2 separate regions of the Homo sapiens genome follow, and region 2 is linked to region 1. The links are contacts of gene promoters, found by promoter capture Hi-C in blood cells and fetal thymus (Javierre and others, 2016). All regions are on one chromosome and are shown on one strand. Each heading gives the region's core, a stretch centred on a gene start or on the middle of the fragment in contact. The rest is flanking DNA. Distances are from core to core; before and after follow the strand shown.

Region 1 (5,814 bases), core at 1,919-4,418:
TGAGTCTCTCTTGGGGGCTAACTAGCCCGGTCTCTGGAGCTTCAGGAACCCGCCAGCCAGAGACAGGAGATGTGAAACTCGTGAGTGTTGGGAAATCAGCAAGGCCTGGGGAAGAGGAAAGCCTCCAGGCCTGAAGCAACATGCTTCCCCTTGCACCAGCTGCCCTTTCTGAGGAATGGGCCTGTGGTTCTGTGGGGAGGGGGCACCAAGTGCCCGCCTCATGCAGAGTGCTGCATCCTTTACTGAGCTTGTTCAGATTGACAACCTCTCTTTCTCCTCACCAGAGGCCACAGAGAAGAAACTGCGCAGGCTCTGGAGACAGACTGGGTTTGAATCCCAAGTCTACCTTAGGCAGTTTCTGTAACATCTCAGAGCCTCAAGGTGGCAAATGGCCAAGGACAGGGGCTCTGGACTCAGATCAACTTTGGAAGAGTCCTGGATTCACTCCCTACTTGCTGGGTTCAGGGGGCAAGTAGTTCACCTCTTGGAGCCTCAATTTTCTCTTCTGTAGAGTAGGAGCAACAATAGTGCCAACAATTAAGACAGTCAGTAAGAAGTTCTTAGCTTGTGCTCTCTGGACCATAGGAAGAGCTCAAGGCATCGTGTCTCTTTATGTTTCTCAAAGTCACCATTATTGTCATCCAGGTTTCTTAGCTGCTTTGTCTGTCTTCTAAATGAGCTCCATGGATCCTCCATCTTGGCCACATTAATTGGATAATTCTTTCTAAAGGAGCCTAATATTTAGTGATACCTTCATTACAACTGCTTTTTTGTAGATTTTTCTTATCCTGAGTGGGGTGAACATCATTAAGAAAATTAGGCCAGTCTTGGTGGCTTACACCTATAATCCCAGCGCTTTGTAATGCCAAGATGGGAGGGTCGCTTGAGACCAAGAGTTCAAGAACAGCCTGGAAAACAAAGCAAGACTCCATCTCCACAAAAGAGTAAAAATAAAAAAATTAGCCGAGCATGGTGGTGCATGCCTGTACTCCCAGCCACTTGGGAGGCTGAGGTGAGAGGATCACTTGATCCCAGGAGTTCGAGGCTATAGTAAGCTATAATTGTGCCACTGCGTTCCAGGCTGGGCAATAGAGGGAGGCCCCATCTCTAAACATAAAACAAAAGCAAATAAAAAGGAGAAATTAAAATAAAATAAAGTAAAATTGCTTCTACTTTTAAGGATGATCTGGAATGTTCCTTTTCATAGGTGGCATGTGTTTTGAGAGATAGCGAGAGAGAGATTGATTGATCCACGTCAGGAATGCCCTCCCTTTTACTCCATCCTCCACGGCCCTGCTTAAATCCCAGTTAATTCCATGACATCTTCTGTGCTTACTCTACTTCAAAGTGATTTCTCTCTCTCTTTCTCTTCAAATGGCTTTTTATTGTTCACTGCTATGCTAGTGATTTGAAAGACCAGGTGACCTCTCACCCGTGATGGAGCTTTTGTACAGCAGAGCTGTGCTTTATACAGAATGATCAGCTACAAAGAGCTCTTAGGTGCGGCCCAGGCACAATGGCTCACGCCTGTAATCCCAACACTTTGGAAGGCCTAGGCGGGCAGATCACCTGAGGTTGGGAGTTCCAGGCCAGCCTGGCCAACAGGGATAAACCCCGTCTTTACTAAAAATACAAAATTAGCTGGGCGTGGTGGTGCATGCCTGTAATCCCAGCTACTCGGGAGGCTGAGGAAAGAGAATCGCTTGAACCTGGGAGGCAGCGGAGGTTGCAGTGAGCCGAGATGGCACCATTGCACTCCAGCCCGGGCAACAAGAGCGAAACTCCGTCTCAATAAAAAAAAAAAAAAAAAAAGAAAGAAAGAAAGAAAGAGAGAAAAGAAAAGAGTTCTTAGGTGTGAGGCCCTGCAAGGAGCAAATGGCCTGGGCTACCTTCACTGATGCCCTCAGCACCTTCTAAGGTGAGGCTAACACCAGCTCACATTGATGAGCTAGTGCTGGGCCTGGAGCAAAATGTGTATTTCATTTAAGCTGCCCACCAGCTTGTGAGGCAGGTGCATTACCGTGACGGCGGGGCTCCTCAGAGTGTGTATAAGAAGAAAACTGTGCATGGCCAAAGCTATGCTTGAAAACCCTCAGGAAGGCACCACCTCAAGGACCAACATAGCATCACTTAGTAAAGGCAACAGCCTTGGAACAGATGACTCGTGTGTGTGTGTGTGTGTGTGTGTGTGTGTGTGTGGCATTAGATGAAGTAGTAACTTGTGTTTAGAGGTTGCCTTATTGCACAAATATAGTTGCTTTTATACACTGGACTCACCCTCTGCCAATAAGTTGTTCAGTTATGAGAAATGAACAATGTCTGAAACTAAGAAAACAGCAAATTCTCACCTCCTATCTCCAGGGAATGTGCTCTTTGGCTAGAATATATGGCAGAATCAATAGTGAATAAAATATATTGTGGAAACAATAGTGAATGGAATATATGACACTACCAATAGCAATTGTTAAGTTTTTTTTCTTTTTAATTTTTCTTTTTAGGTTTGTCTAGTTGAATGCATCTAAGTTTTATGTGCATATGAAGAATCACTGTTTTCCTATTATACAGATTTGGAAACTGAGATTCCCAGCTTTTAACTCCTTGCCTAAGGTTGCATAGCACAGAAATAGTCATATCAGAAACTGAGCCCTGTCTGCACAGTGTAGCACCTTGTTCAGCCCTGGGTGCCTGACTCACTCACTCCTTGAGGACCCTCTCATGACAACTGTAAAGAGGCAGCTGAAAGAATCCCAGTCTTTGATGGTGGGAGGGGAAAGTGGTTGGAAAGCATTAAAAAAACATGCTCCAGCAGTTCACTGATGTGGGAAATTGTCTGTATTTCAGGTCAACCGTCAGGATAGATTTTGGTCTGCAAAGCCCCAGCTGAGCAAGAATGCAGTGTAGACATATGGGTGCCCAGAGTTTAAAGGAAAATTACTCAGACTCACATTGGAGTTTAAGACCCCTTCATTGCCTCTCCTACTGGGTTGGGGTGACTGGAGCCAGTGGGGAATTACCAACCCTGTGGCTCTCTCTGCATCTCAAGCCTCCAGAGCTGGGCTTCCTTGTTTACTTATTTAGAGCCCAGCAGAGGAAGTGGTAAAGGAAACTAGCTGAGTCGTTTTCTGAGAAGAGACCATATTTGTTCGCAGAGGAAGCCGTTGCTTTCTGGGATCTGGCTACGCCAGAAAAGACATCGGCTCCAACAGGGGTGTTCCACAGGGTAGCTGGGAGTTGGAAGAGCCAAGAACGCCTCCGAGCTCTGGATTTGAGCTTCTCTGCCCATGGGTGAAGCGCCCATGCTCAGCTTGTGAGCTTCTTCCCGGGAGAGCAGCCATGGCACTGAGGAATGTGCCCTTTCGCTCAGAGGTCCTGGGCTGGGACCCCGACAGCCTTGCTGACTATTTCAAGAAGGTAAGCCTTGCTCTTGTGTGAATGGTCATGATGCTAGTGCCCTTGGTGGGCTGAGCTGAGGCTTGACGATGGAATTGGGGCAGAATGTGGGAGGTGTATAAGATAGCAATGGAACCCTATGGCAACTTTACTGGTTGAGTGAGCGCCATATAGACCGCTGAGTTTTCCTGACCATGAGTTCCGGAGAGAAGGATGGGAGCAGAAGCCCTCAAATGAGTATGTGCCTATTATGTGCTAGGGTTTGAATTCGGTGTCTCACAGGCACTGTCCCATTTAGCGCTCCCTACTATGTTGTGAGGTCAGCATTGTTATCCCCTTGACTCAGCTGCAAAATCAGCTCAGGGAAGTGAAATGGTCCGAAGCCCTAGGGACTACATGTGATAGAGGCAAGACTCAAGCCACACCTATCTGGTTTTAAAGTCCATGCTCTGAGATGCAGAGAACTGTTGTAACTGCTAATGAGATCAACGCTACTTACTAGAAAGGGGAGACGTGGTGTCCTGGAGGCAGGAGAAAGAATAGGCAGGGTGGGAGGGCTGGATAGAGGACTATGATGAGCAGTGCCAGACACAGCATTTGGGCTTTCACTGCTCACGACCCTAAGGGGGGTCCTCAAGCTCCCGCCTGGGGCAGTCTCCTTGGAGCCTTATGAGAGTCTTGTGAAGCAGGACAGAAAACTGATGTGAGCCCCAATTTATAGCTATGAAAACTGAGGCCCCTAGAGGAAAAGAGGCTTGTGGCGGTGCTGGGACCAGAGCGTTGCTGTCTTATCTTCTGGACTTAGAGGAAAGGTTGAAGGATCCCTGTGCTTGGTCATTGGCAGAAGGGGACAACGCATCTGCTTGGGCAGATCTCAAGCCACATGACTTAGTTATAGTCCCTCTACCCTGACCATGTGGTAAGATGACTTGTGCGAGACGGTTAAGCTTCTAACACCCTCATCCCTGCAGGCTGGCATCGGATTCTGTTGATATTCCAGACTGTCATAAAGATGAGATTGTAAAGCTAAGATGGTAGAAGTCATCTAATTCAGCTTCGTGTTTTTCCTGGGGAAATTGAGATTCAAGAGGGTAGACGAGGTTCCCTAGGACGTATAGCCAAACCTGGGGTCTATGCATTTCCGAGGCATTTATAGTCACAGCTGTTCTCCCCCAACCTGAAGAAGAAAATGAGAACATGTTGAACTAGGTGTGGTATGGTAGGGGTACAGTTCACAGATCCTGTTTTTTGCCATATTTTGTGCTTTCATTTCTGTTATTTTCCTTCTGCAAGGTCATAATAAACTTAGATTTCAGCAAATATTGTTGCGCAACTGGTTTTTTGAAGGATGTTTCTAAATATCTTGCTCAAATATAGACCAAATAAGATAGGGCAACAAGGTAAAATTTGCCAAGAGGGAATAAAGTGGCATGTTACCTTGATAAGGGAAAAAGAAAGGAATTGAGAATTATGAAGAGAAAGACTTGGGACGGGCTGAGAGGCACAGATAGGCCTAACATTCAGGTGTGACCAGGAGAATTATACAATCCAATTGAGCAACAGAGAATTGATCCCTAAAACTCCCATCAGTACAGGGAGATGGACCACGGGTCAGGGATGGTACAGGAAGACCTCACTGCCTGAGCTGGGGGAAGGGAGAGTTTTCTTCCTGGAGATCTCAGACCCCAGGACAAATCTACAGCACCCAGGCAGGTTCCTTCTTCTGCCATAAATGGACTGAGGGAAGAAACTAGGAGACTGAGGCAAATCTGTGATCCTGGAAGTTCTAGTCCCTCCACAGACTTGGATAGAAACCCTTCAGATTCTGAGTACCTCAGCCCCCTGAAAGAAACTACCAAACGAATGGACCGCAGAGTCATTTGGGAATGGATCTTAGCTGTCAAACATGACATGTAAAGAATTGATCTGCAGATGCAAACTCTACCCAAGTAGTGGGGTCAGGCCTCCCTTGGAGACAGCTCTCGACTCAGCTCTGAGGTCGGACACACTTTACCCTGGCTCTGCCACCTGCTAGCTTGGCGACTTTCCTGTAGTTGCTTTGCCTCTCTGTGCCTCAACTTCCTCATCAGTGAAATAGAGATATGAACAGTAACTAACCCAATGGGTTGGTTGTGAGGATTAAAGCAAATGATGTGTGCAAGGCACTCAGCAGACAAATGGATCCTAATGCGTGTTCCTTCTGCCCTTTTACCTTCTCTATTAACTGGCTCCTAGCTGGGGACACCCATGCAGACTGGTGGGACTTTGCGTCTTCTTGTCTCTGACATGGGTACCTCGTCCTGTGTCTGGAATATAAGCTCCTGAGGACAGAGACCATGTTACATATTTGTTCAATCTCTCCAATTCCTTTTGACTTGCAGGAGAACATCCTTGGGTCGTGCAGTGGAGAGGCACTGGCTCAGA
Region 2 (5,814 bases), core at 1,626-4,125, 2.8 Mb before region 1:
ACTTCATAGGTCCCACTCAACAATTCCTTTCCTTTCCTTTTGAAAACTACTCTACTCTGCAAGAGTAGAACAAAACAGTCCTTCAGATGCTTACTAAGTCAAGCCACTACCTGTTTCACGGTACAGTTGAAATCAGACATCCCAAAGTCTCCAAAACATTTAAGCAGCAGAGGTTGCCTATGCAAGGAATACACTGGGGGAAAGGTGGGGCTCAAGTTCTCCCTTTATTATGTAATATGAAACCTGTAACCAAAACTGCAGGTGAATCACTATATTTTACCCTTTGATAGCAGTTCTCTAGACTCCAAAATTTAGAAACAGGCAAGTAAAATTCAAAACAGATTATTATAGTTTGTCATGATTATTAGCAAAACATGCCCATTATTTATTTTCCAAATTCTGCTGCTGCTAGTCTTTAAGGAAGGACAATGGGAAAAGAGGAAAGTAAGGAAGAAAGTGTATCTTTTCCCTCAGATTGGGTGAAAAAAGATCATTTTCCTAGCCAAAGCAGTACTTATAATGACCTTGTAAGAATCTGTGATCCTTTTGCCATACCACCTTGCAAACTCTGTATACCTGATCAATGTAATAGTCTTTTATCCTCACATTCGGAGAGTTTTTAAAATATGGGAGGTGGCCAGGCACGGTGGCTCATGCCTGTAATCCCAACACTTTGGGAGGATGAGGCAGGCAGATCACGTGAGGTCAGGAGTTCGAGACCAGCCTGGCCAACATGGCGAAACCCCCTCTACTAAAAATACAAAAATTAGCCAGGCGTGGTGGTGCACACTTGCCGTCCCAGCTACTTGGGCAGCTGAGACAGGAGAATCACTTGAACCCCAGAGGTGGAGGTTGCAGTGAGCTGAGATCATGCCACTGCATTCCAGCCTGGGCAACAGAGTGAGACTCTGTCTCAAAAAATAAAAAAATAAAAATAAATAAAAATTTTAAAAAATAAAAAATAAAATATGGGAGGTGAATTAGGTCTGCCACAAAAAATGTAATTAAACAAAATAAAACCACCTTTTACTGAAAATCTTAAAAAGCAAAGAGGATATACTAAATCTCAAAAGTGATCTCTTCTTAGAATGCCATGTTAGAGGAAGACAGAAGAACTCTCAGTTACAATTTTGTTCAATTCCTTTCCAAAGGCTCCTATCCAACTTTAATCTTTGGGTTACAGGGACAACATATGGGAGCTTAGTCAAAGCTCTTTGGGAACCAATAAGGAAGAAGCCTTTTTTTTTTTTTTTTGAGACAGACTTTCACTCTTGTTGCCTAGGCTGGAGTGCAATGGTGTGATCTCAGCTCACTGCAACCTCCACCTCCAGGGTTCAAGCCATTCTCCTGCCTCAGCCTCCCAAGTAGTGGGATTACAGGCATGTGCCACAACACCCGGCTAATTTTGTATTTTTAGTAGAGGTGGGTTTTCACCATGTTGGTCACGTTGGTCTCAAACTCCTGAACTCCGGTGATCTACCCGCCTCAGCCTCCCAAAGGGATGGGATTGCAGGCATGAGCCACCGCAACCGGCCAAAAAGAAAACTATTTATTTATTTATTTATTTATTTATTTTTATTTTTTATTTTTTAGACGGAGTCTCGCTCTGTCACCAGGCTGGAGCGCAGTGGCGCAATCTCGGCTCACTACAACCTCCGCCTCCCAGGTTCAAGCAATTCTCCTGCCTCAGCTTCCCGAGTAGCTGGGACTACAGGCGCCCACCACCACGCCCAGCTAATTTTTTGTATCTTTAGTAGAGACGGTGTTTCACCATATTAGCCAGGATGGTCTCGATCTCCTGACCTCGTGATCCGCCCGCCTCGGCCTCCCAAAGTGCTGGGATTACAGGCGTAAGCCACTGCGCCCGGCCCTAAAAAGACTATTAAAGCAAGTTTCTGGATTAATCTGAGTTGAATGGGAAGGACTACTTTTTATTTCTGAAAACTATCAATTGCAAGGTATTGGAGGCTTTCTGCAGCCTTGGTATCTGTCAATTAAGTTGTTCAGAGCACAAGAATAAGAGCATGGAACAATTTTAGACAGAACCAGAGAATGCATTTCTAATCCCAGCCAACTTTGATTACCACTGGGGACAAAATATTCAGTTTGTATGTATCTGTGTAGCTGTTTACAGATTAAAGTACATTTCTAAACCCTGTCATTTAATAAAACAACTTGGTGAAGTAACAAGGACCAGTATTTTGATAAAACATCTAGGTAATATAGTCTTGGTATCAGGATAACCACTATCCCCCAGTCCCTGTCCAACCCTTTTTACATCAATAAATAAAAAGTACAGCAAGGGTAAGAGATTTGTCCAAGGTCATTCAGTAAATGGATGCCTCCAAGCAAACCTATTGTTACAAAGACTATCTCTACTCTTTGGGCCTCAGAGATCATTTCTAAAAGACTCGCAAATCTACATTTTGAACCTAAACATGTGCATGCGTGAGCTCTATCATCTGAGATGTGGATATCTCCATGTTCACATTCCATCACTGCAGATACAACATGCCATCTCCCCATCCAAACATTCCTATTCTGTCAATACTATCACTCTCTGACTTTCAGGGATAGAAGGCTGATTTCAGCCTTCACTCTTTAAATTCTCCTCCCCTACTCATTTTGTTGAATCATACCAATTCTTTTTAACAAAGATGTACAGATCACTTACCTTGTACTGAGCACAAATGCATCTGTTTGACTTTGCCCTTCCCTCTTTTTCAACCCTTACTTGGTCCTCATCATCTTATATTTACCATTCTAATATTTACCCTACAGTCTTCCTGTCTCTATCCTCCTCTCCCTCTCTTGAGTTCTTATGCCCCATTTTAAAATTATTCTTATGCCAATAATCCTAGCACTTTGGGAAGCCGAGGCAGGAGGATTAATTGAGGCCAGGAGTTTGAGACTGGTCTTGGAAACATTGTGAGACCCTGTCTCTACAAAAAAAAAAAAAAAAAGTAAAAATCAGCCAGGCAGCTAGGTACAGTGACTCACGCCTGTAATCCCAGCACTTTAGGAGGCCAAGGCAGGCAGATCACGAGGTCAGGAGATGGAGACCATCCTGGCTAACACGGTGAAACCTCGTCTCTACTAATAAACAAAAAAAATTAGCCGGGCGTGGTGGCCAGTGCCTGTAGTCACAGCTACTCAGGAGGCTGAGGCAGGAGAATGGCATGAACCCGGGAGGCAGAGCTTGCAGTGAGCCCAGATTGCGCCACTGCACTCCAGCCTGGGCGACAGAGCAAGACACTGTCTTAAAAAAAAAAAGGGATAAAAAAATTAGGCATGGTGGCACATGCCTATAGTCCTAGCTACTCAGGAGGCTGAGTCAAGAGGATGGCTTGAGCTCAGGAGTTCAAGACTGTAGTGAGCTATGATTGTGCCACTGCACTTCAGCCTGGGCAACAGTGTGAGACTCTGTCTCTTAAAAAAAAAGGAAAAATTTTAAATTTAATAATTATTAAAAATTAATGAAAATTATTAAAATAATTTTTTGAGACAGGGTCTTGCTCTGTCACCTACACTGGAGTGATGTGGAGTGATCTCAGCTCACTGCAACTTCCACCTTCCAGGCTCAAGCAGCCCTCCCACTTCTGCCTCCCAAGTAGCTGGGAATACAGGCACATGCCACCATGCCTGGCTAATTATTGCATTTTTTTTTTAGAGAGGGTTTCAACATGTTACCCAGGCTGGTCTCGAACTCCTGGGCTCAAGCAATCGCCTGCCTTGGCCTCCCAAAGTGCTGGAATTACAGGCATGAGCCACCATGCCCAGCCTAAAATAATTATTAATATAAGATAAAATTATTCTTTCTAACCTACCACACGTCATATTAACACTGTGCTCCAAAGTCATCAGCAACTCCCATACATTTCTTGGATAATGTCCAAACTACTCAGACCTTAGGCCAGACACAAGTGGCTCATACCTGTAATCCCAGCACTTTGGGAGGCTGAGGCAGGAGGATCACTTGAGCCTAGGAGTTTGAGAGAAGCCTGGCCCACAAAGTGAGACCTAGTCTCTTAAAAAAACAAAAACAAGGCCGGGCACGGTGGCTCATGCCTGTAATCCCTGCACTTTGGGAGGCCAAGATGGGTGGATCACCTGAGGTCAGGAGTGTGAGACCAGCCTGGCCAACATGATGAAACCCCATCTCTACTAAAAAGAAAAATTAGCTGGGCGTGGTGGCTCACACCTGTAATCCCAGCTATTCAGAAGGCTGACGAAGGAGAATCGTTTGAACCCAGGAGGCGGAGGTTGCAGTGATGCGAGATCATGGCGCTGCACTCCAGCTTGGGCAACAAAAGCAAAACTCCATCTCAAACAAACAAACAAAAATACTCATACACAATGACACTATCTTTCCAACTCTGTCTTCCACTACTCTTAAGTCTAATATTAGACTGATTTTACCATTTCCCCTAATCCTCAAGATAGTTACAATCCCACTTTACTCCACTAAGAACTTCCAGTAGTGAGACTGACCTTCATGTCTTAGCTCATATTTTTCATCTTCTCTCCTATTCCCTTGCTTCCACTACCAGACTGTGACATCTTTGAGAATGACCATCATATCTCACATCTATTTCACTACAGTGCCAAATGCAATGCCCTTCCGAGCAGTCATCCACACAAGAGATGGCTGAAAATGAATGGGAAAATCCCCTAAGACCACATGTCCTTCTGGATAAGGAATCAAAGGTGTGGTGCTCTTCACAATGAGGACATTACAAAAAAGTCAATTATTCAATATATATTTATTGAGCATCGTTTATGTGCTCCAAAGCATCTTAGTTTGTTAAATTGAGTCTTGAACCACTGTAGTATCATATAGTAAAAATATGAAAAATTGTACTCCTGAATTTTTTTTAATTTCCAAGAAGAGTGATATTTAAATTTTAGTCCATTTTAAAGACCTGATGTAATTATTATCTAGGGAAGAGAGGACAGAGGAAGAAGTAGAATTAAATTTAATTTAAATCAACTGAATTCAGGCACTGGACCGATGCATGTTATATTGTTCTCTCCCTCGTCATTATTTTATTTTAATATTTTAAACTACAAAGCAGGAAGATAAACTCACCATAGTAAAACAAAATATTTTATGCAGGATGTTAAAGATTTTAGTTTTAAAGAATCACTTTGTTTTCTAAGCTGTTCTGCAGAAATCTATAAAATGTTAAAAAGAGAACAGTACAATTAATGGCAGCGGCATAAAAACAGGCAGTGGTGCAAGTGAGAATGCACTGGAGCACACAGCAGGATTCCAGTGACACCACACATTCTTCACACACTGTAACAACTTTGATGCTGTTGTTAGCAAGGATTTGAACTCTTCTTCAAAATTTACTGTAGGGGCAAGGTACAGTGGTTCACTGCCTATAATCCCAGCACTTTGGGAGGCCAAGGTAGACAGACCACTTGAGATCAGGAGTTCAAGACCAGCCTGGCCAACATGGCGAAACCATCTCTACTGAAAAGACAAAAATTAGTTAGGCGTGGTGGCACACACCTGTAGTCCCAGCTGCTCAGGAGGCTGAGGCATGAGAATCGCTTGAACTCGGGATTACAGTAAGCCGAGATCACGCCACTGCATTCCAGCCTAGACTACAAGAGAGATTCCGTCTCAAAAAAAAAAAAAATTGTTTCCTTCCTCCTTTCTCAGATTTGGCACCTTTTCAAAAGCAGCATGAAATATACTAGAGATATATTCAAATTCCTTCCTACTGTGAAGCAGGCTATACCACCAGCATAAACTACATAATAGCCAGTACAGAGGTTATTTGAACATGGTTTTGCAGTCATCTC

What was found. The method cuts DNA at HindIII sites, captures the fragments that hold promoters and counts their contacts. A CHiCAGO score of 5 or more calls a contact.
Region 2: a contact is called between a fragment that was not itself captured here and the fragment with the promoter of LCP2 in region 1, in 1 of 17 cell types (activated CD4 T cells). The highest score is 5.5, in activated CD4 T cells.

What each region holds. Positions count from the first base shown.
Region 1 is chr5:170,295,131-170,300,944 of GRCh38, reverse strand. It overlaps LCP2 (lymphocyte cytosolic protein 2), which reads left to right and starts at 3,168. Exons shown (of 21, transcript NM_005565.5): 1 at 3,168-3,411. The coding sequence starts at 3,334. RefSeq lists an enhancer at 3,986-4,065. The HindIII fragment of the contact is 7,744 bases long and covers 1-4,339 here.
Region 2 is chr5:173,069,742-173,075,555 of GRCh38, reverse strand. All of the region lies in intron 1 of CREBRF (CREB3 regulatory factor), which reads right to left. Among named protein-coding and RNA genes, the nearest start is that of CREBRF, 16 kb to the right of the region's middle. The HindIII fragment of the contact is 5,988 bases long and covers 1-5,814 here.